Linked DNA regions of Homo sapiens: region 1 is linked to region 2. Evidence: promoter capture Hi-C in human tissues and cell types (Jung and others, 2019). All regions are on one chromosome and are shown on one strand. The core of a region is centred on a gene start or on the middle of the fragment in contact, and the rest is flanking DNA. Distances in the headings are between cores, read along the strand shown. Region 1 overlaps NUDCD1 (NudC domain containing 1). Region 2 holds the start of TMEM74 (transmembrane protein 74).

What was found. The method cuts DNA at HindIII sites, captures the fragments that hold promoters and counts their contacts. A contact is called where the count stands out against the background at its distance.
Region 1: a fragment that was not itself captured here is called in contact with the fragment with the promoter of TMEM74 in region 2 in 1 of the 25 tissues and cell types used here (mesendoderm cells).

Annotation. Positions count from the first base shown.
Region 1 is chr8:109,317,448-109,321,456 of GRCh38, reverse strand. All of the region lies in intron 2 of NUDCD1 (NudC domain containing 1), which reads left to right. Among named protein-coding and RNA genes, the nearest start is that of NUDCD1, 15 kb to the left of the region's middle. RefSeq lists an enhancer at 933-1,580. The HindIII fragment of the contact is 4,606 bases long and covers 1-4,009 here.
Region 2 is chr8:108,784,661-108,788,973 of GRCh38, reverse strand. It overlaps TMEM74 (transmembrane protein 74), which reads left to right and starts at 1,380. Exons shown (of 2, transcript NM_153015.3): 1 at 1,380-1,498; 2 at 3,837-4,313. The coding sequence starts at 3,876. RefSeq lists silencers at 1,265-1,444, 1,860-2,154. The HindIII fragment of the contact is 13,104 bases long and covers 1-4,313 here.

The sequences.
Region 1 (4,009 bases), core at 940-3,439, 530 kb before region 2:
TTATTATTTTTTAAATGGTTGATACAGAGGTTATAGTGTTTTCCTTGACTTACCACAGTCTGCCTCTAATTAATATTATTTTACTTTAAAAACAATGTGAAAACTTTACAACAATATAATTCCTTTCACTTACCCTCTCATTGTTTGAGCTAATTTTATCATATGTTTTTCACCTTCATATGCTGGAAACTCCACAATACATTGTTAATATATTTGCTTCAAACAGCCAATAATCTGTTAATAGCTTCCTAAGTACTCTATTCCTTCTAGCCCTCCTGCGCATTGCATCTACAGAGTAGTCTGTCTGATTTGCGTGTTTAATATTATCACTTGCTAAAATTCTTTTAATATTTCCTTCATGGCAAAATCCATGTTTTTAATATGTAATTTAAAAATAGGCAATGTGTTCATGTAATTTAAAAACCAAAAAAGTTATAAAAGGTATTTAGTGAAGCCTCCTTGATCCCATCTTTTATCTATCCTATCTCCAGTATCCATTATTTCCCCTGCAATGTCTTTATTGGTTTTGTGTGTCTTTCCAGATGTGGTAGGTTATTTGTTGTTGTTTTTTGCAAGTATAAACACAAAATGATGTTGCGGGAAGTCAGGGACCCCAAATGGAGGGACCAGCTGAAGCCATGGCAGAAGAACGTAGATTGTGAAGATTTCATGGACATATATTAGCTCCCCAAATTAATACTTTTGTAATTTCTTATGCCTGTCTTTACTGCAATCTCTTAAACATAAATTGTAAAGATTTCATGGACACTTATCACTTCCCCAATCAGTACCCTTGTGATTTCCTATGCTTGTCTTTTCTTTAATCTCTTAATCCTGTCAGCTGAGGAGGATGTCTATCGCCTCAGGACCCTGTAATAATTGCATTAACTGCACAAATTGTACAGCATGTGTGTTTGAGCAATATGAAATGTGGGCACCTTGAAAAAAGAACAGGATAACAGCAATTGTTCAGGGAGTAAGAGAGATAACCTTAAACTCTGACCGCAGGTGAGCTGGGCGGAACAGAGCCATATTTCTCTTCTTTCAAAAGCAAATGGGAGAAATATCGCTGAATTCTTTTTCTCAGCATGGAACATCCCTGAGAAAGAGAATGTGCACCTGGGGGTGGGTCTCTGAACTGGCCCCCCTGGGCATGGTCGTCTCTTATGGTCGAGACTGCAGAGGTGAAATAGATTCCAGTCTCCCATAGTGCTCCCAGGCTTATTAGGAAGAGGAAATTCCTGCCTAATAAATTTTGGTCAGACCGGTTGATCTCAAAACCCTGTCTCCTGATAAGATGTTATCAATGACAATGGTGCCTGAAACTTCATTAGCAATTTTAATTTCGCCCCAGTCCTGTGGTTTTGTGATCTCGCCCTGCCTCTACTTGCCTTGTGATATTCTATTACCTTGTAAACTACTTGATGTCTGTGACCCACACCTATTCGCACACTCCCTCCCCTTTTGAAAATCCCTAATAAAAACTTGCTGGTTTTTGCGGCTAGTGGGGCATCATGGAACCTACTGACATGTGATGTCTCCCCCGGATGCCCGGCTTTAAAATTTCTCTCTTTTGTACTCTGTCCCTTAATTTCTCAAGCTGGCCGATGCTTAGGGAAAATAGAAAAGAACCTAGGTGAATATTGGGGCAGGCTCCCTGATGAAATGATATATATTCTTAAAATAAACTTTTCATCTTTGCATATACGTTTATATGCCGAGTTTTCTCCAACCTTGTCTTACAGCACTTTGTATACTACATTCTAGCCATACTAAACTCTTGCAGTTCCTGAGACATGTGCTGTATCCTATTTCTTCTGGTCCTTTTCTCATTGATTAACTACCTGGAGCATACTTTTAATTCAGTGTCAGTCTGCTTTGCAATCTTTACTTAAGTCCTAGGTAACCATTTTGTCATCTAGCAAGCTTGCCTTGACATCTTACCTCTGTTCCCCTAGGAATATTCACACCATTGGCTCTCAAATCTACATGTGCTGTGAATTTCTTCTATTCTAGAGGTTGATACGCTTTTCTGCACAAGGCCAGCTAATTTAGGCTTTGTGGGCCAGATAGTCTCTTGTTGCTCGCTTTTGCTGTTGTAGTGTGAAATCAGCCATAGACAGTTTATAAGCAAGTGAGTGTGGCCGTGTTCCAATTAACCTTTATTTACAAAAACATAAAATGGGCCGAGCGCGGTGGCTCACGCCTGTAATCCCAGCACTTTGGGAGGCAGAGGCGGGCGGATCATGAGGTTAGGAGATCGAGACCATCCTGGCTGACACGATGAAACCCTGTCTCTACTAAAAATACAAAAAATTAGCCAGGCGTGGTGGCAGGTCCCTGTAGTCCCAGCTACTCAGGAGGCTGAGGCAGGAGAATGGCGTGAACCTGGGAGGCAGAGCTTGCAGTGAGCAGAGCTTGCAGTGAGCCAAGATCGCACCACTGCACTCCAGCCTGGGCCACAGAGCAAGAGTCCGTCTCAAAAAAAAAAAAAAAAACATAAAATGGGCAGGAATTGGCCTGTGGACTATAGTTTGCCACCCACTGGACGAGGCCATGGGTTCTAGCACCCAGCAGAAGGCTTGATCAGTATATTTGTTGAATGGATAATAGCTGTGTAAAGTTCATTATTACTGTTGGGAGTTGGCTTTGGAATAGGGTCTTCCTCCTGTTATTTCTAATCCAAGTGTAGGTATGAGTTCTGTATTGGCAATGCAGTGTTTATCTCAAAATGTTCAGAAAGGAGTTAGACATTTCCTGGTAATAAATATTTTCCTTCAGGTGACTCCTAAAACAGATAGTGTAAAATTCTGATTGTTTCTTGTTGGATCAGAGGAATGCAATCTGGCCTCTTACTCTTAGATATTAGTTGCTTTTTCTTGCTAGCCCCATGTTCTACTAAGGATTACTATCTAGGCCCAATGTGTATAAGCCAACTAAAGTGATAGGACATGCATTTTTATGAGTGGCTATGCTCTGATCTCTCTGATCAAATAAATTTTAATGATCAAATAGATTTTGATGTAGAGTTCTGTGTGTATGTGCATGAAAGTTTTTCCTTAATCCTTTTTGTGTTAACAAATAGGGCATTTGTTGATAGCATTTGCTGTACCATAAAGTTTGCCAATAACATTTATTCTACCAATTTTCTGACTCGAAGTCAGATGACATTATGGTAGATCTGAAAGTGTTAATTTTTGTAGTACCATCCATATTCATAATCTATTTTACTTTTCCATAGATATCTTGTGGCACATGTAATGTAGCTCTAATACGTGTTGTTAGGGAGGTAGGGTAGTTGGTCAAAAGGAAACTAGACATTTAAGACAGACTTACCAAATGAGTTCATTTTAACGTGTTTATTGAAAACCTGCTCTGTGTAGGACACTAATGTATAGGTTGGTGCAAAAATAAAAACTGTTTTACCATTATTTTTAACATGTTCAAGTACTTATACTTCTACATATAAGTTCAGGTAACTTATATGTTATACTTTTTAGGTGCTAATATGAGTGTACAGGTAACTATTACATGGTAATATGTAGCTGACAAAAAGGGTACAGCAGTCTCCATATATCCTTGGCTTCAGTTTCATAGAAAATAAGAATAATGATAAGGTTTTTTAGACGTTAAAGCAAGGTGTGTGAAAATGCTTTGAAAAGTGGAAGGCATTATGCAAATATAAAGAGATATTACTGGCATATGCCTTGGGGTATCACTTTATGGGAGACAAACACTGGCTAGTTTTTTTTGCACATATTCCTTCTTTGAGAGCAGTAGAACTGTATGATAAGAATAAATCATAATGTCAGGTAACTTTTATTGCATAGAGATTATTACATATCAGGAACAATTCTAAACACTTTACACGTACTAACTGTTTAATCCACAGAACAATGGATCCTGTGGATCCTTTCTCATAGGATAATATCCTGATATTATCCTGATATACCAGATACTATTATTATCCACATCTTACAGTTGAGGAAACTGAGGCATAGGATGTTTG
Region 2 (4,313 bases), core at 131-2,630:
TTTTTTTTTTTTTGAGACGGAGTCTTGCTTTGTCGCCAGGCTGGAGTGGTGCAGTGGCACGATCTCTGCTCACTGCAACCTCCGCCTCCGGCTTCAAGCGATTCCCCTGCCTCAGCCTCCTGAGTAGCTGGGAGTACAGGCACGCGCCACCACGCCCGGCTAATTTTTTCTATTTTAGTAGAGACGGGGTTTCACCATGTTGGCCAGGATGGTCTCGATTTTCTGACCTCGTGATCTGCCCGCCTCGGCCTCCCAAATTGCTGGCATTACTGGCGTGAGCCATCGTGCCCAGCCCATCCATACTATAATCCTTTTTTGCTCCCCTAGAATTGTCCCAACAGGATGCTGGAAAACTGGAGATTATCTGCAAGCTACACATACCCTGGGCTTTCAGTGGCTGTTGGCTATTGCAGTCCACTCTGGTTGAAAGAGGCTGGTGACACAGTTACCTTGTCCTATCCTAAGAGTCACAACTCAGAAGATTCAACCTTCAGATTTCCTTTATTCCTGAGCCCTTTTATTCTGGCCTTCTGGTCTTTCTTCCATTCATTCCATATAGCATAACGCTTAGAATCTGTTGGTGTTCATCCCCCCCCCCCCACCTCTGCTAAGTATTAGTTGTGTGACATTGGGCAAATTATTCTACTTTGTAACTCAGTTTTGCCTTCTGTTAAAATGAGGATTTTTTTTTACAGTACTTTAACAATAAATTGTGACCATTAAATGAGATAATGTATCTATAGTGCTTAGAAGAGAGCCTGGCAATAATAAGCGCTATTTATGTTAACTGTTATTTTGAGTCATTATTATTCATACATTCAACGAATACCACTGTGCTAAATACAGGGGATGTGTTGGTACATCGGACAATCTCTTACCCCTTATGGTCATATTTCTTCTGATTTTGTGAGACACGCAATGACTTTCGAATCTGACTCCTGGATGCAATTTCAGAAGCTGCTGTTGGTAACTGTGGATGAGGCACTTACCCTCTCTGAGCCTGTTTCCACATCTGTAAAATGAGGATTAATAAAATCTACTTGGAAGATTTGTTTTGACTATTAAAAAGACAAAATATGCAAATTATCTGGCACATTTGAAGTCGAATATACTTTCCTTTTCACAGTCTTGTGGCCACACCTGAGGCTAGGGAACTCCACTCTAGGCTTAGAAAACAGTGCTGTCTTCTTAAGTGCTGGGGAGGAGTAAGAGGGTATGGCGGGAACTCATCTGCAGGAAGGGTAAAACCCAGAAGGCGTGGGAGGAGACAGAGACAGGAGGGATGCAGGGACCGCCCCTGGCCTACAACTCCCGGGATGCTCCGGGAGCGCCCCGCCCCGCCCCACCCCGCCCGCCGTGGCGGGCGCTGCCCACCCGGCGGAGCCGAGCGGCGTGCAGAGGCTACAAGTGCCGTAGCTGGTGATTGGGGGACTTTCTCCGGGAACCGTGCCGGGAGAGCGCGCGGTGCTGGAGCCGCACCGGGTGGCCGAAGCAGAAGGTGAGTGGCGGGGAGTGGGATGGGGTGGAGGCTTTGAATGCAAGGGTGAGAGCCCTGGAGCCTAGCAGAGCTGGAGCGCATATCCCCGCTCTCTCTCCTTCGTCTCCGAGTACTAGGCGGACACATCCGTACCTCGAATGCCTCAGTGGGCGCAGAGTTCACCAGAAATGGATAGCCGGATTCCTCGGCGCCTGCTGGGGGCACCGCTGCCAGGTGCTTGGGGCTCGCTCTCCCGGCTTTGCTCGCACAGGGCGCATCCAGAGGTCGCCTCCCCGAGATCAGCCTTGCCTGTGTCAGTTTAAAGCAAATATTAATGCTTTTAATTGATGACAGATGGACGAGGGAAAGTGCGTGTCCCCTCGCTTTAAGGTGCAATGTCGTTAACTGGGCTTTTAAGCAGATCAGAGGAAAAAGAGGGAGAGGACGGAAGAAAAGAGTCTTTAGCTGGTCCCCTGGGATTATCCATTCTCCACTGAGAATGGAAACCCCGGATTAGGGAGCTGCAAAGGAAATCGACTGTGCTGCTAGCATACCTCCGGTAGAACAAGCGAACAAGCGGGAGTAGCTTTTCTTTAAAGAGAGGTAGAGGCGGCCGTAGGGAATTAAGTGGGGATTTCTCTCTTCTTTTGTTATAAACTGAAAGTCTCAAAGAACCCTGCTGATTTTATCCAAGGTAGGCTAGTGTGATGAGTTAATGGTACCAAAGGTTAATCAGAGCCCCTAATGCCTGAGAAAACTGGAAGAAGAGTTATCGGTAATTGATGAAGCCTGTTACCATCACTTCATTCATTGAGGGATCCTTTAGTGGGGGTTTGTTCTAGTTTAGTAGTGATTCTTTTGCCCTGTTGTTTTTTGCTGTTTTCACTGTAGAGAAACTCCGATAACAGGAGAAAAACGTTTTCTGTTTTGCTTTTTTTGTTTTGTTTTAAACAAACTCTTAGGTGTAGCAGAAAACATGTCAATTCCCTCTCCCATATTTTGAGTTGCCAGGTTGACCTTAGGTGACCCTTGCCTGTGTTTCTGTTACCAGCTTTGGAGCTGTGGATTTTGAATTATAAGAAGCCTCAAGCCGTTGGGTTAAATCAATTATCACCCTGGATTTGGAAGCAAAATAAAAGGAGCCTTTGGTTAAAATCTCTAATGATAGTGGAAAGTGAATTTTTATTCCTTAGAAACATGGCAGAGGCAGAGAAAAGCCGATGGTTTTCTGCTCAAACCAAAGTTCTCTCCCAGAAATGCCCCTTGCTGCAGTCGGGGGTGAGGAGTGACATGTTTATAAAATTACAGAGGTAACCTTGGAAATAGCTTCTCACCTATTTGTCTCCACAGAACTCTTACTCTGTGGGTTTATAGTTTGTCTTTTATTATCAGTTCACTTCTAGATTGGGTTTGTAAAACTATCCAGATGGTCAATTTCTTGTGCATTGTGTGATAGCAAAGCATGCAGAGAGGGAGGAACACAGACCCAGGGAACGGGAGTAGCAGATCCTGCAGCTGGAGCAGGCAGGTGTGTGTGTGGAGGAGTGGGTTGGCCCATTGTATTTTGCAGGGATTGCCGTAAGGTCTGTTGCCTGTATGCTTTGGGGTCCAGAACATGCTTCCCCCATGGAGCAGTGAGGGAATAGGGCTAAGTGGAAGCACAGTGAATAAGCAGCATATGGTCTTGTAAATACAGGGCTGTGTCACTAGGGTCATTGGATGTATGAGGTGTAAGCTTAGCAGAGGTGGCTGATTAAGCTGGCCTTTTTCATCTACTTCAGAGCTATGGAATCAAAATGCTGAGTTCCTGCCCAGCTGATAGGGGTGTATAGTCATTCACTGATGGTGATGCTCCAAAGCTAATCTGTATTAGAATTTGCTCTGAACTAGGGAGAGTGTAAACACTTACAATCTTACTGAATTAACAAGTCTATGCTTCCCCAAGTCCTCCAGAAAATCGGCAGCTCTGCTAAAAAGGGCTCTTGCCTTTCTCATTTGTCTTTTTACAGGAAACTTGCCTTCTCGTTTGAGGGATCCTTTTGCAGGAATGCGCGAGTCCTTGAATAAATTTGGCTTGGTGACGGCAGTATTCTTTCTCAGTAGACACTGCCACTTCCTCCACGCACCTTTCTACCCTGACTTAAGTTTCTCAGTGTTAATCACTATGACAAGTGAGAGCATTTGTCCCTTCCACACTTTCCTGCCACTAGGTATCCCCTCCCTTCTTTTGCCTGTTTGAGGTGGAAAAGGGGCTAAACAGGTGCAGCTGTGAAGGAAATGGGGACCCCAGGAGCAACACTCCTGGAAGTACAACCTTAGCTTCTGTTGGGTTCTTATCTAACTCTGTTGCTATTGGCAGACTTTCCGGAAGCTGCTGGGGGATGTCTGACTAGCTCTCATGGAGCTCCACTACCTTGCTAAGAAGAGCAACCAGGCAGACCTCTGTGATGCCAGGGACTGGAGTTCAAGAGGGCTGCCTGGTGACCAGGCAGATACAGCAGCCACAAGAGCTGCTCTCTGCTGTCAGAAACAGTGTGCATCCACCCCAAGAGCAACCGAGATGGAAGGGTCTAAACTTAGTTCTTCTCCAGCATCCCCCTCCTCCTCTCTGCAAAACAGTACTCTTCAGCCAGATGCCTTTCCACCAGGACTTCTCCACTCAGGGAACAACCAAATAACAGCGGAACGGAAAGTCTGTAACTGCTGCAGCCAGGAATTAGAAACTTCTTTTACCTATGTGGACAAAAACATCAACTTGGAGCAGCGGAACCGGAGCTCGCCATCAGCAAAAGGGCATAATCACCCTGGGGAGCTTGGCTGGGAAAATCCAAATGAG